Linked DNA regions of Homo sapiens: all the other regions are linked to region 4. The links are contacts of gene promoters, found by promoter capture Hi-C in blood cells and fetal thymus (Javierre and others, 2016). All regions are on one chromosome and are shown on one strand. Each heading gives the region's core, a stretch centred on a gene start or on the middle of the fragment in contact. The rest is flanking DNA. Distances are from core to core; before and after follow the strand shown.

The links. Contacts are between HindIII fragments. The CHiCAGO score rates a contact against its expected background, and 5 or more counts as called.
Region 1: a contact is called between a fragment that was not itself captured here and the fragment with the promoter of ZNF684 in region 4, in 1 of 17 cell types (megakaryocytes). The highest score is 5.7, in megakaryocytes.
Region 2: a contact is called between a fragment that was not itself captured here and the fragment with the promoter of ZNF684 in region 4, in 1 of 17 cell types (naive CD8 T cells). The highest score is 7.5, in naive CD8 T cells.
Region 3: a contact is called between a fragment that was not itself captured here and the fragment with the promoter of ZNF684 in region 4, in 2 of 17 cell types (endothelial precursors and megakaryocytes). The highest score is 5.6, in endothelial precursors.
Region 5: a contact is called between a fragment that was not itself captured here and the fragment with the promoter of ZNF684 in region 4, in 3 of 17 cell types (total CD8 T cells, naive CD8 T cells and total B cells). The highest score is 5.4, in total CD8 T cells.
Region 6: a contact is called between a fragment that was not itself captured here and the fragment with the promoter of ZNF684 in region 4, in 1 of 17 cell types (fetal thymus). The highest score is 5.7, in fetal thymus.
Region 7: a contact is called between a fragment that was not itself captured here and the fragment with the promoter of ZNF684 in region 4, in 2 of 17 cell types (total B cells and naive CD4 T cells). The highest score is 5.2, in total B cells.

What each region holds. Positions count from the first base shown.
Region 1 is chr1:40,127,816-40,130,564 of GRCh38, reverse strand. No RefSeq gene overlaps it. Among named protein-coding and RNA genes, the nearest start is that of PPT1, 32 kb to the right of the region's middle. The HindIII fragment of the contact is 4,148 bases long and covers 1-2,749 here.
Region 2 is chr1:40,061,057-40,063,776 of GRCh38, reverse strand. It overlaps CAP1 (cyclase associated actin cytoskeleton regulatory protein 1), which reads right to left. Exons shown (of 13, transcript NM_006367.4): 4 at 1,965-2,042. Among named protein-coding and RNA genes, the nearest start is that of CAP1, 22 kb to the right of the region's middle. The HindIII fragment of the contact is 3,835 bases long and covers 1-2,720 here.
Region 3 is chr1:40,953,931-40,956,630 of GRCh38, reverse strand. No RefSeq gene overlaps it. Among named protein-coding and RNA genes, the nearest start is that of CTPS1, 24 kb to the left of the region's middle. The HindIII fragment of the contact is 430 bases long and covers 1,041-1,470 here.
Region 4 is chr1:40,530,189-40,532,888 of GRCh38, reverse strand. ZNF684 (zinc finger protein 684) reads right to left here and starts at 1,252. Exons shown (of 5, transcript NM_152373.4): 1 at 1,102-1,252. It overlaps LOC124904149 (a long non-coding RNA gene), which reads left to right and starts at 1,343. Exons shown (of 2, transcript XR_007066022.1): 1 at 1,343-1,401; 2 at 1,534-2,311. RefSeq lists an enhancer at 1,158-1,452. The HindIII fragment of the contact is 2,309 bases long and covers 90-2,398 here.
Region 5 is chr1:40,098,307-40,101,132 of GRCh38, reverse strand. No RefSeq gene overlaps it. Among named protein-coding and RNA genes, the nearest start is that of PPT1, 2.5 kb to the right of the region's middle. The HindIII fragment of the contact is 1,194 bases long and covers 698-1,891 here.
Region 6 is chr1:40,980,989-40,983,688 of GRCh38, reverse strand. CTPS1 (CTP synthase 1) reads right to left here. Exons shown (of 19, transcript NM_001905.4): 2 at 233-411. The coding sequence starts at 398. Among named protein-coding and RNA genes, the nearest start is that of CTPS1, 2.6 kb to the right of the region's middle. The HindIII fragment of the contact is 1,428 bases long and covers 668-2,095 here.
Region 7 is chr1:40,077,484-40,080,295 of GRCh38, reverse strand. PPT1 (palmitoyl-protein thioesterase 1) reads left to right here. Exons shown (of 9, transcript NM_000310.4): 7 at 1,638-1,736. Among named protein-coding and RNA genes, the nearest start is that of PPT1, 18 kb to the left of the region's middle. RefSeq lists a silencer at 1,493-1,542. The HindIII fragment of the contact is 2,165 bases long and covers 202-2,366 here.

The DNA of each region.
Region 1 (2,749 bases), core at 59-2,558, 400 kb after region 4:
ATATAGATCAGTGGAATAGGAATGAGAGTTCAAAAATAAATTCTCCTATTATGACCAATTCATTTTTGACAAGGGTGCCAAAACAATTCAATCAGAAAGATAGTCTTTTCAACAAAAGGTGCTGGTACGACTGGATATCTACATTCAAAAGAATGGAAATGGGGAGTGACTGACTGATAATGGGTACAAGATTCTTTTGGGAGTGATTACAGCATTCTAAAATAGATTCTGGTGGTGGCGGCCCAACTATGTATACTAAAACCCACAGATTTTACCCTGTAGGTGAATTTTATGGTATATAATTATATATCAATAAAGTTGTTTTAAAGCATGTCAGATGTCACTCCTTTACTTACAATTCTCCAAAGGCTTTTGATATTATGTAGGCTAGTTGTTCTTGACAAGGATCAGAGGAGAGGAGGATTTTTCTCTAGGGGAATTTAACAATGTCTGGAGACATTTTTGGCTGTCACACTGGCAGGGGACTACTAGCGTCAAGTAGGAAAAGGCCAAGGATGCTTCATTTTTTTTTTTTTTTTCTTGAGTCAGAGTCTTGCTCTTGTCACCCAGGCTGGAGTGCAGTGGTGTGATCTCGGCTCACTGCAACCTCCACCTCCCAGGCTTCAGCAATTCTCGTGCCTCAGCTACCTGAGTAGCTGGGATTACAGGTGTGTGCCACCATGTCTGGCTAATTTTTGTATTTTTAGTAGAGACGGGGTTTCACCATGTTGGCCAGGCTGGTCTCAAACTCCTCACTTCAGATGATTCACCTGCCTCAGCCTCCCAAAGTGCTGGGATTACAGGCATGAGCCACCAGGCCCAGCCCCAAGAATCCTTCTTAATATTTTACAATGTTTTGAGCTAGGCAATCCTCTACAAAAAAAGATTATCTATCAAAACGTCAATAGTGCTGAGACTGAGACATCTTGATCTAGAGAAAACGCAAGGTCCTTACAATGGCCTATAAAGCTCTACCTACTCTGGCTCTGGCTGCCTCTATTGTCATCCCCCTCCACTCCCCTTATTGCTCACTCTCCTTCAGGCACACTGGCCTAGTCGCTGTTTCTCAAACACACCAGGCTCACTTTTTCCTTGGAGCCTTTGCATGTGTTATTCCTCTTGCTTAAGAGCCTCTTCCCCCAATGACCACATGGCTAAATCCCCTATCTTTTTTCAAGTCTTCGAACAAGTGTCCCTTCTCAATGAGACCTACCTTGACCATCCTATTTAAAATTACGACACTCCTGGCCGGGCGCGATGGCTCACGCCTGTAATCCCAGCACTTTGGGAGGCCGAGGTGGGCAGATCACCTGAGGTCAGGAGTTCAAGACCAGCCTGGCCAACGTGGTGAAACCCCGTCTCTACTAAAACATACAAAAATTAGCTGGGCGTGGTGGCAGGCACCTGTAATCCCAGCTACTCGGGAGGCTGAGGCAGGAGAATTGCTTGAACCCAGGAGGCAGAGGTTGCGGTGAGCTGAGATCGCGCAGCCGAGATCACGCCATTGCACTCCAGCCTGGGGAACAAGAGAGAGACTTTGTCTCAAAAAAAAAAAAAAATTACAACATTCCTGTAGTCACTAGCACTCCTTCCTGTCCTGTTCTATTTCTTTTTTTAAATTCCCTGTTACTTATTGCCTTAGAATCTATTGCTTACTTTGGTTATTTAGCATGTCTATTGCTGTTGTCTGTCTTCCCCAAGCATCACAAGGGTCCTCATCTGTTTTGCTCACTGACTTGTCCCAGTGCTTGGGATACTGTAGCTGTCAATAAATATTTATTGAATAAGTTGAATGAATACACTTGATTATTTCCAAAGCCTTTAAAAACATATAGGCATTCACTATTCAATATCTATCCCAAATTTCCAAAAGACATTTTAAAACCAAGTATTTATTAAAAATCTAAATTATATATTGTAAATTATACCTAATAGCACTTTCTTTCTTTCTTTCTTTTTTTTTTTTTTTTGAGATGGAGTCTCGCTCTGTCACCCAGGCTGGAATGCAATGGTGAGATCTCGGCTCACTGCAACTCCTGCTCCCCATGTTCAAGCGATTCTCCTGCCTCAGCCTCCTGAGTAGCTGGGATTACAGGCATGAAGCCACCACACCTGGCTAATTTTTGTATTTTTAGTAAAGGCAAGATTTCACCACGTTGGCCAGACTGGTCTCAAACTTCTGACCACAGATGATCTGCCCACCTCAGCCTCCCAAAGTGCTGGGATTACAGGTGTGAGGCACTGCCCTCGGCCAATAATACACTCTTAACTCTAGACAAGACTTTTTGAAAATTCATGGATTAGTCTCTTACACTCCTGACATCCTCCATCTCTGACTTTAGTTTTCAGTTTTTGGTTGAGACAGGTCTTGCTCTGTCACCCAACCTGTAGTGCAGTGGTGTGATCGTAGCTCATTACAGCCTCAAACTCTTTGGCTCAAGCAATCCTCCCATCTCAGCCTCCAGAGTAGCTGAGACTACAGGCATGCGCCACTATACCCAGCTTTTTCTTTCTTGGCGGGGAGCAGGGGTAGATACAGGGTCTTGCTTTGTTGCCCAGACTGGTTCTCAACTCCTGGCCTCAAGCAATTCTCCCACCTCAGCCTTCCAAAGTGCTGGGATTATAGGTGTAAGCTGCCACACCTGTCCGCTTGAGTCTGAGAGGCAGAGGTTGCAGTGAGCAGAGATCACACCAATGCACTCCTGCCTGGGCAACAGAGTGAGACTCTGCTCAAAAAAAAAGTAAGATA
Region 2 (2,720 bases), core at 215-2,714, 470 kb after region 4:
CTCACCAATACAAACTATTAATGGACCCATGTGAATATGTTTTACTTTCTCATTAATTCTTCAAAGACGAGCTCTTTTATCATCATGAAAGCCCCCAATGCATTGCCAGCCATATAGTAGCTGCTGTAAAGAACTGATGAATCAAATGCAATTAGGGGGCTTAGTCTGGGCATGGTGACCCACGCCTGTAATCCCAGCACTTTGGGAGGCCAAGGCAGGAGAACTGCTTGAGACCAGGAGTTCAAGACAGACTGAACAACACAGCACAACTTTGTCTCTACAAATAATAAAAAGAATTAGGGCCAGGCATGGTGGCTCACGCCTGTAATCCCAGCACTTTGGGAGGCCAAGGTGGGCAGATCGCTTGAGTCCAGGAGTTTAAGATCAGCCTGGGCAACATGGGGAAACCCCATCTCTATAAAAATACAAAAATCAGCTGGGCATGGTGGCGCATGCCTGTAGTCCCAGCTATTCAGGAGGCTGAGGTGGGAGAATCACTTGAGCCTGGGAGGTGGAGGTTTCAGTGAGCCGAGATCCTGCCACTGCACTCCAGCCTGGGCGACAGAGAGAAACTCCATCTCAGAAATAAATAAATAAATAAGTAAGTAAATAAGCAAGCCAGGCATGGTGGTGCACACTGTAGTCAAGGCTACTCAGGAGGCTGAGGTGGGAGGATCATTACACCTGGGAGGTCAAGGCTTCAGTGAGCTGTGATTGCACCACTACCCTCCAGTCTGGGTGACAAAACAACACCCTGTCTCAAAAAAAAAATTTTTTTTTAAACATAAATAAAATAAAAAACAATTAGGGGCTTAGCATTCAAGTAGGCACCTTGGCAAAATGGATGAATTTTGTTTGTGTTTGCACCCTTCCTCCAAAGCTCCATTTCCTGAACATCTCAATTCTCAGATCTTAACCATTCAGGACAGATTAAGAATTAAAATCTAATTCTACATATTAGAATTAGATGGCATCTATACACACACACACACACACACACACAATGTTTTTTGAGAGAAGGTCTTGCTCTGTCGCCCAGGCTGGAGTGCAGTGGTGTGTTCATGGCTCACTGCATCCTCAAACTTTCAGGCCCAAATCTTCCTCCCATTTCAGCCTCTCAAGTAGCTGGGACTATACGCATGCACCACCTTGCCTGGCTATTTTTATTTATTTTATTTTTTTAATTTTTAATAGAGACGAGGTCTTGCTATGTTGCCCAGGCTGGTCTCAAACTCCTGGCCTCAAGTGATCCTCCTGCCTCAGCCTCCCAAAGTGCTGGGATTACAGGAATGAGCCAGCACACTTAACCAGAATCTAATATATTTGACATTATCTTGCACTATTTTTATATTATCTAGGCATGCTGAGGGTCAAGGGTTTTAATACAGCATTTAGGACAACTTGCTTTATTATTCCTCTGTAACTAGGAAAACCAAATGCAAAAGAAGGAAACCTATATTCTTTGACTCCAAGAGAAATCTAAATTTTCTCTAATTCAACTTTTCACATCTTGCACCATAAAATTTTGAGGTGGGAGTAAAATTAAAGAGAGAGTCTCCCAACCAGTGAAGGATGAGGAGAGAAGCAATACTGTAGGAGTTTTAAGATCTCCACAGGAGCACTACTAAAGCCCATCCACAGTGAAGCAAGAGAATCATCTTTAAAGGGCTTTGGAGACACTATGATGAATGTGGACTCAGCAAAGAGGCAGGCAAGCAAAGTCCCAGGGATAACCACAGTCCTATGCAAAATGACAGAGAAAAAGCCAGTAGAGACCATTAAGTACCCAATAGTACCTTCCCATTAAGGCACTTGAAGTATGGCTCTACCTCTGGGACTTGGTATGAACATATATTATCAAAAGCCTAGTAGGTCTATTTTAAAATGTTATAATAGCTTGACATAAATCTCTCAACTCGTCCTGAGCATCAAACCAAAATGAAACCAGCTAGTAGTGAACTTACTTCTGCTGGCTGTTGACACTGAGAAGCTGTAACCAACAGAGCTCGCTCCAACTTCAAACCTGTGTGGACCATCTCCGCCTGCCAGAAAGAAGAATCAGCTATTGATGACACATTATAACTAGAGAAGTCTTGATAAGAATAACCTGAAACCTCTACTTCCATGTACTCTGATAGCAACCCAGGCACTTCATGTTATCCTCCTCATGTATTCCAGATTCCAGGGACTGAGAGCAGAATTACATACACTACTGTTCCTATTGGAACTCATCAGGGATATATATCCAGAGTTGGAAGTGAAGTTAATTGGATAATCACCTAGCTTACATGAAGTCATGTTAGCATCTTACACATGCATTGTGATACCGTGCACTGAAAAATCCTTCCTATTTCACATCAGCAAAATAAAACAAACAGCAACCAAAAAAACACCTTTCTTTTCTCAAAAATTGGAGACAGGAGTAAAGGCAAAGGCCTAAATTTCTGCTGAAAATTCTCAAGGTATTTACTCCTTTAGATTAAAGCTATCTCTCAAATGCCAGATACCATGACCCATTAATAAATAATTAAATCAATTTAGTGAGCTTAATGGAACAAAAGTATGAGTGCAGTGCACCAACTTCAAGTTATTTCCAAATAAAAAGTTAAAAAAAAAAAAAGTACAGCAGAAGTAGTATAAATATCATCTTGTGAAACTTTTATCTCAGTTACGAATATGTTCTTTCTTTCTAAGGGTCATTCGCAGTCAAAAGAATTTAA
Region 3 (2,700 bases), core at 6-2,505, 420 kb before region 4:
AATTATTACCTAATTCAGGAAGTTCATAGAGGAAGCTATCTAACAGTGTTCAAATATGTTTTGGCTCTTGTCAAATTTTGAGTAGTTGAATAGGTCAACATGCTTGTGGCTCATTTATGGCATGCCAGTTAGAAAGCTCAGTCCTAACTAATAGAAATAGGGTTTCCAAGACAAAATATGTTATGTGGTCAAATAATTTTGGAGAATTCCATGCTAAAGTTAAAATGCACATTGCATGCTGCAGGAATTCTCAGAACCCTTAAGATGCCAGTGCCCGCTGTGATTTTTTTTTTTTTTTTTTTTTGGCCTTCAAATGGAAGTGGGCAAGGCACAGAAACATGTAGTTTCACGTAAACACAAATGCACAAAAAACATATAAAAATACTCAACCTCACTCATAACTCATATTCACAATAAAACAAGATAGGCCGGGTGTGGTGGCTTATGCCTGTAATCCCAGCACTTTGGGAGGCCGAGGCGGGTGGTGACACCTGAGGTCAGGAGTTTGAGACCAGCCTGACCAACATGGTGAAACCCCGTCTCTACTGAAAATACAACAATTAGCCGGGCGTGGTGGCGCGCGCCTGTAATCCCAGCTATTTGAGAGGCTGAGGCAGGAGAATGGCTTGAACCCGGGAGGCGGAGGTTGCAGTGAGCCGAGATCGCGCCATTGCACTCCAGCCGGGGCAACAGAGTGAGACGCCGTCTCAAAACAACAAAAACCGAAAGAAAACAAGATAGGATTTGTCACGTGGAAGATTGGCAAACTGGAAAAAGCTTTATAACGTCCAGCGCATTTGAGTGGGAACAAGTGCTCTCACAGAATGTAGGAGGCTGTGTAGATCTATAACTCTTTGGAGGAAGTATTGGTTAGGGATGATGCCCACTGGCATGTAACAGAAAGCCAGACTTCATCGAATAGGGATTTGTTAACTTTCAAAAAAAGATATTAAGTCTAGAGACAGGCGTCCCAGGCTAGTGCAGCCTCTCTGCAACATCACCAGGGTCTCAGGCCCCTCCACCATGCTTAGTACAAAGCTTTTACTCTCACATTTGCCTCACTGTGACCTCATGGTTACAAGATGACTGCTTTACCCCCAGCCTCGGGTTCACATTCCAGGCAAAAAGAAGGGAGTGGCAAGGAAGAAAATGTGGTGCCTCTATCAGGAAATGAATGCTTTCTTAGGTGCCTCCAGCTGACTTTTATCGACATTTGAGTATGTGGAACTGGCCGCCCCTAGATGCAAGGAGAGCTGTGGATTTTTTAGCTCAGCACATTGCCTATTTGAGTGAAATCAGATATTGATTTACCTGATCTGGCCTCAGCTGACTATCTCTTCTCTTACGATTCTACTCTGACTTCTGTTCTTCTACCTCACTGACTTTCACAGGTACTGTTAGCATTTTACCCAGATCCTTTTAAGATCCCCTTTTCCTTCATGTTGTGTGTGCCCCCAACTTTGCTAAGCTTTTTCTCTTAACATTTAGTACTTAGTACCCAACACCTAGTACCTAGTACCTATGGCTCTTTGGATAGGGCGCTACTGGAGCCCACTTTGCCCAGAGGAAGTGCCTGAGAATTTACTTGAAAAAGCTCCCTGGGATGACCCTAGCCAGATGTTAATGGGAGGAGAGTTTGAAAGTCTCAGCAACCTTGCCTTAGGTTGGAACAAACACTGAGGTGTAACTTATATGCCAGAGCTCCCCTTCCTACCCGACTCTACCTTACCCCACCCCGCCCCACCCCCGTGGGATCAGGGTGAGACTACCTTCCTCCGGATTTCGCATGAAATCACACGCTTGCTTGGCTTCCTCCTCTTCCCTGCCCTGCTTCCCCTACACCCTTGCTGGTTATTCCCCACCCTACCCCTAAGGGAGCACTAATCAATCACTTATACAGGAATCCTCTCAGAGTCTGCTTCCAGATCGCCTGACCTAAAACACCAGCCAACTTGCAGTTTCTAGAGCATGCTAAGCACGTTCCTATCACAGGGACTTTGCACGCTGCAGGAATACCTCCCCCCAGACACATGCACGGTTCACATCTGCACTTTGTTTGTGTCTTTGCTCAAATGCCACCTTATCAGTGAGTATTTTCTTTTTTCCTTTTTTTTTTTAGACGAGTCTCGATTTGTCGCCCAGGCTAGATTGCAGTGACCCTATCTTGGTTCACTGCAACCTCCACCTCCGGGATTCATGTGATTCTCCTGCCTCAGCCTCCTGAGTAGCTGGGATTACAGGTGTGTGCCACCATGCCCAGCTTATTTGTGTATTTTTAGTAGAGAAAGGGTTTCACCATGTTGCCCAGGCTGGTCTCGAACTCTTGACCTCATGATCCACCCGCGTCGGCCTCCCAGAGTGCTGGGATAACAGGTGTGAGCCACTGCGCCCGGCCATCAGTGAGTATTTTCTTAACCACACTGCCTGAAATAGAACCACTCCATCAACTTCTATCCTTTACCCTGCTTAATTTCTCTATGCAATTTAGCACAGCTTGGCTTAACAGTATTTAATACACAGTATTTTGTTTATTGTCATTCTCTCCTACCATAATATAAGCTCAGAGGCCAGGAACTTCGTCTTGTTTTATTCTCCTCTGTATCCCCTGCACTGGAATTGATTAATGCCTGCCAGAAGAAAGGCCTTGTCCGGGTGTGGTGGCTCATGCGTATAATCCCAGCACTTTGGGAGGCCGAGGTA
Region 4 (2,700 bases), core at 3-2,502:
CCAAGTGGTTCCTCTTGAAACAGTTATTTTTTTTCCTCCCAGAAATTTATCCTGAAGAAATAATGAATGAGTTGACTCACTTAAAAGCTTGGTCTCTGAAGCTCCGTAAGTCTAAAAATGATTCCTTCCTGTGATTCTCTGGTTTCTACTCTGACGCTGGGATAAGAGATTGCAAATTAGGTTGGGCTTTCTTGAGAAGGCTGGATTCAGGGACCCAGGAACACTTTTTTTTATTTTTTTTTTGTTAAGCTGGATCCTTCAGTTTAAACTCCAAATGTTTCTCTCTGTAGAAACTCGCCATCTCCTATGAGCTTAGAACTGCTGGGGCTCTAGAAAGGGTATAATGGGCAAACCGGGGACTCACATCTTCATTTACACAGTCTGCACTGGAAGATCTGCAGATACACCAAGAGACTCTACAAAATGACTACAAATCGAAATTTACTCAGCATTCATTGCTCAAACATTTCAGGAGAATAAACCCAACTCTGTTTTATGCAGGAATGCTATACTGTAAAAAAAAAAAAAAAGAAATTTGGAGAAAATGTATCTGAGTTTGAATCTCAGTTCTTCCACTTACTAAGCTGTGTGAGTCCAGGCAAGTAATTTCACCTTTCAGCTTCAGTTAACTCATATGCAAAATGGTAATAGCATTTACTTCAAATGATTGCTGAGAATACCCTTCTAATCCATAGCAGTTTCTCAAGAATGCTTTCTTCCTGGATCCCTTGAAATAGCTTACAGTTTCCACTGGATCCCTTGACACGGCTTAAAATTGTCGCAGGCTCCAGTCGGGCCAACTATGCTCTTGGAACCAGGAAAGGTACAGTTAGATGAACAGACTCCTACATAGTGACCTTGACCTACAAGAGCAGGAATGCAAATTGAGCCTCTCCCAGTCCCACCAGAGCCCTGGACATCTACCCAGTGCCAGTCGGAGCCCAACTCTTGCTTTCTCTCAGCTACTCGAGTTGAACAGGACCCACATATCCAAACCTGAAGTCACTGCGCTTGGAGACTAAAGTTTTATCTTCGGTAGGGTAAACCTAGAAGCCAGTCCCCGCCTTTCTCTTACGTCCTCCGAGTCCAGCAAAGCCATACCTGCCACCCTTTCACTGCCTCGCTCGCAGCTCCGGCTCCAAGCCTGGGATCAGTCACAGCGTCGTCCAGAGACAGGGGAGCAACACCCGCCCGCACTTCCCGCGGCGCTGATTTGAAGATTGAATACCGGCTACCGTCCTACTACGCGTGTGCGGAAGTAACTGTCCACCTAGAGTTCCTGGACTCCTCCCGGGTGTAGGCCATCCGTCGGAGACCACATTTCCCATAAGGCCAGTGGAGCTCGTTTCCGGAAGACGTCAGACGCTGCTTCCTCTTGGGGGGTGGTGCGGAGATTCCCGGGTTGGTATCTCTATTGCTAGCCTGAGAGCCACGCTTTTTAAGTCGTTTTCATTTAAAAGGATACACAGCATTTTTAAATACTGGAAAGTAAAATCGGCGGTATGCTAAAAACAATTTGCTCTTACTCAGCAGGGTTTCTTCTAGCAATGCACCAGGTTAAGTCGGAGAGGTGAAGAGGATCCAACAAAGAAGACTGAGAAGGAATAATCCATGAAGTAGATGGAAAAGTAGGAGAGTTTAGATCTGCAAAACCAAGGGAAGGAAGTGTTTCAAGAAGGGAGTGACCCATTGTCTCAAATGTTGCTCATAGGTCAAGTAAAATGAGAATTAAGAATGGGCCACTGTAGCAATGGTCACCAGTGATGTTGAAACGCCATTTTGGCAGTGGTGGAAGTTTGATAAAGTCTGATGAAAATTTGATAGGAGTTGGAGGGAAGGATGGGAGGAGAGGAAATGGAGAAAGCAAATATACGCAATACTTTTAAGAAGTTTTGTTTTTAAGGTGAGCAGAAAAATAAGGCTATCATGGGATAGGGATTTTGTTAATCTTTTGTTGTTGCGTTTTTCCACGTTCTAATTTTTTTTTTTTTTTTAATTCAAAGATGGGGCTGAGTGTGGTGGCTTATGCCTGTAATCCTAACATTTCAGGAGGCCAAAGTGGGAGGATTGGTTGAGCCCAGGAGTCTGAAACTGCCTAGGCAACATAGTGAGACCCTCATCTCTACAAAAAATAAAAAACTAGCCTGGCATGGCACCCGCCTGAAGTCCCAACTACTTGAGAGGCTGAGATGGGAGGATCGCTTGAGCCCAGACAGTAGAGACTGCAGTGAGCCGTGATCCCGCCACTGCACTGCAGCATGGGCGACAGAGCTAGTCTCTGTCTCAAAAAAATAAAATAAAAAAGATGGAAGAAATTATAGTAAGTTTATGTACTAATTAAAAGGATCTAGGCTGGGCGCAGTGGCTCACGCCTGTAATCCCAGCACTTTGGGAAGCTTAGGTGGGCAGATCACCTGAGGTCAGGAGTTGGAGACCAGCCTGGCCAACGTGGTGAAACCCCGTCTCTACTAAAAATACAAAAATTAGCCGGGCGTGGTGGCAGACGCCTGTAAACCCAGCTACCTGGGAGGCTGAGGCGGGAGAATCACTTGAACCCGGGAGGCAGAGGTTGCAGTGAGCCGAGATCACACCACTGCACTCCAGCCTGGGCGACAGAGCGAGGCTCTGTCTCAAATAAATGAATTAGTTAATAAAATAAAACAAAAGATCCAGTAGAGGCGGGAAATACACAATTCAGGA
Region 5 (2,826 bases), core at 45-2,544, 430 kb after region 4:
TCCTGCCTCAGCCTCCCGAGTAGCTGGGACTACAGGTGCCTGCCACCACGCCCGGCTAATTTTTTGTATTTTTTAGTAGAGACGGGGTTTCACCGTGTTAGCCAGGATGGTCTCGATCTCCTGACCTCGTGATCCACCCGCCTCAGCCTCCCAAAGTGCTGGGATTACAGGCGTGAGCCACCGCACCCAGCCTCTTTTTTCTTGGCAATGCTTTGACCTTTCAGTGATAATGTACAAATATATAAATACACAGATGTCTTCTTTAAAAAAAGAACAGCTTTATTGAAATATATTCCACATGCCATAAAAGTCACCCATTTTATGTGTACAAACCAATGATTTTTAGTAAATTTATAGAGTTGTACAACCATCATATATGTATGTACATAAATACATAGTTATTTTCTTATGCCCTGTTTAACTTACTCTCCCAGTTCTAAAATGTACTTACCTACTTACCTATGCCCACAGCATGCCCACATGGCTAGAGGCTGCTTTTCAGAACTCTTGGGTAGTTCTGTTCCTGTCAATTGAGCTACTTGCTTACTAAATGCCTTTGGGCTTATTTTATTTATTTATTAATATATCGGTGATATTTGCTATCATAATTTAGTTAAATTTTTGAAAACATGAAATATGAGCATAAAGAGAAAAGAGATGTTTCTGTGAAAACTAAGTTGAATGCATTGGAAAAGCTTGTTAAAGGCAAGTTGTTAAAAAAAATTGTTAAAGTAACTCTGGGTCGGAAATCTGAGAGTGGAAAGTCTTCCATCTAGAATAATTTCACATCCAAACACTGTGGCTCACACCTGTAATCCCAGCACTTTGAGAGGCTGAGGCGGGAGGATCCCTTGAGCCCAGGAGTTCCAGGCTGCAGTAAGCTATGATTGTGTCACTGCAGTCCAACTTGGGGAATAGAGCAAGACCCTGTCGCAAAAAAAAAAAAAAAAAAAAAAAGTCATCATAGCACTATTCATAATAGCAAAGACATGGAATTAACCTAAGTATCCATCAACAGTAGACTGGATAAAGAAAATGTGGTAGGTATACACCATAGCATACTACACAGCCAAAAAAGGAATGAGATAATGTCCTTTGCAGCAACATAGATGGAACTGCTTAGGTCATTATCCTAAGCAAACTAATGCAGGAAAACAAAACCAAATACCACATGTTCTCACTTATAAGTGGGAGCTAAACATTAAGTACAGATGGACACAAAGAAGGGAACAACAGACACTGGGGCCTACATGAGGGTGGAAATGAAAAGTTACCTATTGGGTACTATGTTCATTATGGCAGTGACAAAATAAAACGTACACCCAACCTCCTTGACATACAACTTACCTATATAGCAAACTTGCATATGTGACCCTGAATCAAAAATAAAAAACAAAAAGAATGTTGGTCTGGCACAATGGCTCACAGCTGTGATCCTAGAACTTTGGGAGGCTGAGGGGGGCGGATTGCCTGAGCTCAGGAGTTCGAGACCAGCCTGGGCAACATGGCGAAACCCTGTCTCTACAAAAAACACAAAAAATTAGCGGGGCATGTTGGTGGTGTGTCTGTAATCCCAGCTACTCGGGAGGCAGAGGCACGAGAATCGCTTGAACCCGGGAGGTGGAGGTTACAGTGAGCCAAGATCACGCCACTGCACTCCAGTCTGGGGGACAGAACAAGACCCTGTCTCAAAAAAAAAAAAAAATTGCATTCAGATTGCTTCACAAGTGTCTTTCAGTTATTGCTCCAGTTTAAAGAAACCTTTAAAGAAATTATAAATAGTTCATTAAAGGCAGGAAACTTCATTGAGCGGGCTATATTCACAGAAAAATCCTGAAACTACTTCAATTTGTAAGTCTTAAGTTAAAATAAAATGCTTATACAATAAGCTTATTTTTCTTAAAACAAAACTGTATACTGTACTGTATAATGCTTTATGATTCTGCATTTTTTTTTCTTTGAGACAGAGTTTCACTCTTGTTGCCCAGGCTGGAGTGCAGTAGCTCAATCTTGGCTCACTGCACCCTCTGCCTCCTGGGTTCAAGTGATTCTCCTGTCTCAGCCTCCTGAGTAGCTGGGATTACAGGCACCCACCACCATGCCCGGCTAATTTTTTGTATTTTTAGTAGAGATGGGGTTTCATCATGTTGGCCAGGCTGGTCTCAAACTCCCAACCTCAGGTGATCCACCTGCCTCAGCCTCCCAAAGTGCGCCCAGTGGATTCTGCATTTTAATCGACTTTTCAACTAACAACTTACCTCTAGTCCCAATGGCATGGAATAGAAGAGATTACAGACCGTGGGTTTGTAATCGACTTTTCTTTTACAACATATTAAGGGCATTTTTCATGTCACTTTATGTAAATTTACCTCATTTTTCTTTTTTGAGAGAGACAGGGTCTCACTGTTGCCCAGGGCAACAGCGAGATCATAGCTCAGTGCAATGGCGAGATCATAGCTCAATGCAGCCTTGAACTCCTGGGCTCAAGTGATCCTCCCACCTTAGCCTCCCCAGTAGCTAGGATTACAGGCACATACCACCACCCCTGGCTAATTAAAAAAAAATTTTTTTTTTGTAGAGATGGGGTCTTGCTATGCTGCCTGGGCTGTACTCTCTTTTTATTTATTTTTTATTCTTATTTTTTGAGACAGAGTTTTGCTCTTGTTGCCCAGGCTGGAGTACAATGGTATGATCTCAGCTTACCGCAACCTCTGCCTCCCGGGTTCAAGAGATTCTCCTGCCTCAGCCTCCTGAGTAGCTGGGATTACAAGTATGCGCCACCACACCCGGCTAATTTTGTAATTTTAGTAGAGACGGGATTTCTCC
Region 6 (2,700 bases), core at 132-2,631, 450 kb before region 4:
ATCACACCACTACACTCCAGCCTGAGGGACAGAGTGGGATCCTGTCTCAAAGAAAAAAAAAAAAAAAAAGAATTCTGCTTCTTCCTTTCTAGGTGAGAAAAGTATCATTCTGCTGTATTAAGGGACCTGTTAGAAGGCAGAAAATAAAAGTTATGCAAACCGTGCACATAATTCCCAAGTGCTGACATGTTCTGCCACATGCAATTATTATGAAGAAATCCACTGTGCTTACCATGCTCATAAGGAGAGAATGTTCCTGCATCAATGTTAATGTAGGGGTCAATTTTGATTGAAGTTACATGTAAACCACATGACTTGAGTATTGTGCCCACACTGCTGGCAATGATTCCTTTTCCAATTCCTGATATAACACCACCAGTAACCAGAATGTACTTCATTTTACTCTTTGACCTGGAAGAAGGAAAAATTACAGATGATATAAATGTATCTCAACAAACCAAACTCATCTGGGTTCAAACACTGGCTCTGCCAATTATTAGCTATGAACCCTCTTGAAGCCTCAGTTTCTCTGTCACAGGACTTCAGAAGGTTCTCGTCAGGTTTAAATAGGATCAAAACAAACATTTCTTGGATCACTGAATGGCTTTAGTCAAATACGTGTAGAAAAACAACTGCTACTCTAATAACACAGCTTTTGTTTAAAGCTTTGACAACTAATAACCTTCAGAGTCAACCTAATAAAACCAGCTCTAAGCTGGCTGATAGAACACTACACCCCAAATGTTTGCTGACATCACTGCCAGACACTGGGATACCAGGCAGGTGCCTCATTATTTTCCCTACATGGGAAAAAAATTCAAACTTGGATAAGTACTCCAGTTCTCCAGGAAATAAATAATGTCTTTGGCTAAACTACAACATATCATCAAGAAAACACAGCTCCTCTAGGTTACAAAAGATAGACTAAAAGGAAAGAACATCAACATTTAAAAGTGGTTGCAGCTAAACCAAAATTCCTTTAATTAAAAGTAGTTCTCTGGCTGGGCATGGTGGCTCATGCCTGTAATCCCAGCACTTTGGGAGGCAGAGCCAGGAGGATCACTTGAGGTCAGGAGTTCGAGACCAGCCTGGCCAATATGGGGAAACCGCATCTCTACTAAAAATACAAAAATTAGCCGGCTGTGATGGCGCACGCCTGTAGTCCCAGTTACTCAGGAGACTGAGGCAGGAGAATCGCTTGAACCCAGGAGACAGAGGTTGCAGTGAGCTGGGATCATGCCACTGCACTCCAGCGTGCGCGACAGAATAAGACTACCTCAAAAAAAAAGAAAAAGTAGTTCTCTTCTATAATTTAACAACAACTTGCTCCTTGTCAGAAATCTCTCCCAGGCATGCAATGAAGAGAGACTGTAAATACTGGGGGAGAGGGACATCAGATAAGAAACCAGTCTGAAGCACATGACGGGCAGAGGACTCAAAGAGAGGGGAGATGAGATTAAATCCAAAAAGCAGTGCCACGGTGGCAGGGAAAGGAGAAATAAGATATAAGGGCAGCAGAGTCAAGATGCAGGTGAAAACAGCATCGACAAGAGGTGAGGAGACCGTGACAGGCTCACCACGGAGGATTTATCACTGGTCCCCAGCTTCAGAGGTCCAGGATCGTCCATTTGGTCAGCAAACCCAAATGTGACCAAAATGAAAAACACAATTAGAAAGTAGCAGAAAATGCTTACTTTGGCATGGTCAGGACATTTTCCTCCTCAGGAACGTTCCATGTGAAGCCAAATTATGATAAAAATAAACTAAGGAACAAGAAAACTAAGGAGTTGTGCTCGAAGCATTCCCCCGCCCCACCCCCTCCCCAGAGCAAGAAAGAACACACTTGGCAGGGAAGGAAGAATGCTCAGAAGTCTTCCCCGCTCCAAAGGCTCTTTGCATCCTCTGCTGCAGCATTTCCAAAAGCATGCTCCCTGGTTTCAACAAAATGCACATGGGATTCTCAAAAAGGGTGTTATGGATATAAATCAGAGAAACGCTGATTAAACCAAGTCATTTAACGCAAGAATCCTGGGAGTGTTTAGCAAGTAAACTCGCACTGTGATCACTGCTATACAGTATGCGGTGTCTCCAAGCTTATCTGACCCTAAGTCTCTCACTTTACAGTTCCTTATTGACACATGAAAATCAGTCTTAGGTACATTTTAGATATGTTCTAACCAGACATATACCTTACTGAGACTATACCCTGGTCTCCCTAAGTTTTGGATGATCCTAGAAATTCCTCTGCCACCGAGTGAGTTACTTCTACAAAAGATTCATCTCATCCAATTACATTTGATTTGTCCCAATTTTACTCTAAGAGTTTAACATCTCTCTTTACGTTCTTTAGTTTCTCTCTTTAGATTCTTGCAGTCTCAGTGCCTGGCAATACATATGCCAGTGTACATAAAGATCAGGCGGGAGGCTCATTCATTCATCCTTATGGGCTACTGACTTACATGACAGCTACTGTGCTTGGGGACTGCAAACATTAATCAGATTTGGGCCCATATCTCAACTTTCTGGCAGTCCAGTTGGAGAGATGAAACATTAACAAATAAATGAGTAATTCAGTGACGGTGGAAGCAGACAGAAAACATGTTTAGACTATAAAGGGGGACGATGAGAGCAGACGCTTTCAGTACCATGGCCATCAGAGGAAGGTGAGACAAGTCCTGGGGGTAGTGGGCGGATCCAGGC
Region 7 (2,812 bases), core at 35-2,534, 450 kb after region 4:
GACACTAGGAAAGAGAAGTTCTGTTTTTTTTGGGAGGCAGGGCCTTTGAGATTCAGTTCCCTTTAGGGAGGTTGAAATTCATTTGCCTTTCTTCCCTTAAGTTCTTTCCCTCTCCTAGTGTTGAAACACACAGGATAAGCTCGGCAGGTTGCTGACTGGGCGAGGTGGAAATTCACAGCTGCTGTCTTAATGAGGGAAGCTTTCCTGATGGATCAGTCTGGGGGTGGATTTTTCTCTAGAGATTTACCTAAAAGAGAGATACAGTAGGCACTGAGTATGTCCCAGACACAAACATGGTTTGGTAGGTTCTGGTAAACTAGATGGCTCAGTTTATATTTGACTCATCTGGAGAGTCTTTTGGTTTTTTGTTTTGAAACAGTTTGAAGGGAAAAACAAACCAAACAAAAAACAACACAGAATAGTATATAGCAGAACGACCCAGAATTTGCAGTTTCTTATTTTGTCTTGGCTTTCTCTGACTAGAAGCCTCTCACCTATGTGATGGACACCTATGGAGTGTGGTGTAAACTCATAGTTGTACCTGTATGCCATGCTCAGTGGCATGTCAGTCAGATAGGATGGTAAGAAAAGCCTATAGAAGGCCGGGCGTGGTGGCTCACGCCTGTAATCCCAGCACTTTGGGAGGCCGAGGTGGGCAGATCACTTGAGGTCAGGAGTTCGAGACCAGCCTGGCCAGCATAGTGAAACCCTGTCTCTACTAAAAATACAAAATTAGCTGGATGTGGTGGCGATCACCTGTAATCCCAGCTACTCTGGAGGCTGAGGCAGGAGAATCGCTTGAACCTGGGAGGCAGAGGTTACAGTGAGCTGAGATGGTGCCACTGCACTCTGGCCTCGGTGACAGAGCGAGACTCCATCTCAAAAAAAAAAAAAAAAAAAAAAGGAAAAGAAAAGGCTGTGTAAGCAATCCCGTGACTGGGTATATACCCAAAGGAAAACAAATTGTCCTGCCAAAAAGACACTTGCACTCGTGTTTATTGCAGCACTGTTCACCATAGCAAAGACATGAAATCAACCTAGGTGCCCATCAGCGGTAGACTGGATAGAGAAAATGTGGTACATATACACCATGGAATATTACACAGTCATAAAAAAGAATGAAATCCTGTTCTTTGCAGCAACATGGATGCAGCTGGAGGCCGTTATCCTAAGCAAATGAACACAGAAACAGAAGACCAAATATCACATGTTCTCACTTATAAGTGGGAGCTAAACATTGGGTACACGTGAATATAAAGATGGGAACAATAGACACTGGAGACTCCAAAAGCTGGGAGGGAGAGGCTAGGGCTGAAAAACTTCCTGTTGGGCACTGTGTTCACTATCTGGGTGAAAGGATCAACAGAACCCCAAACCTCAGCATCACACAATATACCCTTATAACAAAACTACACATGTACCCCCCTGAATCTAAAATAAAATATTTTGTTTTTTAGAAAAAAAGAAAAAAAAAAGCTGTACAGGTATATCCTGGTCAGGAAGCTGGAAAACAGCCCATACCCATGGGGAAGAAACACAGTGGCACAGGGTCAGGGAGACCAGAAAACAGGAAGGCTTTACTCCCTCTGCTGGTGTCTGATGGTAATGACCTTAGGTGTTGCTGGCCTTTCTTTCAGGGTATCAATGAGTCCTACAAGAAAAACCTGATGGCCCTGAAGAAGTTTGTGATGGTGAAATTCCTCAATGATTCCATTGTGGACCCTGTAGATTCGGAGGTGAGACACTACTTAGGCCACATGCCAGGAGAGTAAATGGCATTAAAATAGGGCTGCTGGCCGGGCACGGTGGCTCATGCCTGTAATCCCAGCACTCTGGGAGGCCAAGGCGGGTGGATCACCTGAGGTCAGGAGTTCAAGACCAGCCTGGCCAACTTGGTGAAACCCCATCGCTACTCAAAATACAAAAAGAAATTAGCCGGGTATGGTGACAGCCATCTGTAATCCCAGCTGCTTGGGAAGCTGAGGCAGGAGAATTACTTGAACCCAGGAGGCAGAGCTTGCAGTGAGCCAAGATCGTGCCACTGCACCCCAGCCTGGGTGACAGAGCGAGACTCTGTCTCAAAAAGAACATAAAATGAAATTGAAATGAAATGAAAAAATACAGCTGCCTGCTGGGGAAAAAACCTTCAGTCCCTTCCACCAACTTTTGTATAAAACAGTTCTTCACCTGAGGTCCATAAATGGGACACTGAAGATTGTAATCAATCCCCCAACCCCAAAATTCTATGCAAAATTATGTAATTACATTCTCTGGGGAAGGATCTATAATTTTAATCCATTTTCCAGAGATCAGAGACCCAAAAAATGTTCAGAATCACTAGCCCAAAATATATAAATTCCTAAGCTTGGCCTCCAAGGTCTGCCTTGATCTGGCTTCACCCCATTTTCCAGCCTAATCTGCCTTGTCTGCACGCTTCATACACTCTTGATCAAGCCATATTGTACTACTTGTGCTTTTTCTCTCGTATGCCTTGGTTCATATATTTCTGTCTCTAGAATGCCCTTCCTTGGCTTCTCCACCTGACAATTTCTATTCGTCTGTCAAGGCAAGGATGCCATCCCCATTCCAAGCAGAATGTGATCGCTTTTTTAGAATCATCAGCCTCTGTTAAAACACTCATCACGTTATGTCACACCACCAGGGATTGGCCGATTGTGGCCCACAGGCCCAGTCCATCCTGCTACCCGTTTTGGTGCTACCCACGAGTAACACCAAACACTAACATAAAAGAATGTTTTTAACATTTTTTAATGGTTGGGGGAAAGAATTGGACATATAAAGATTATGTAAA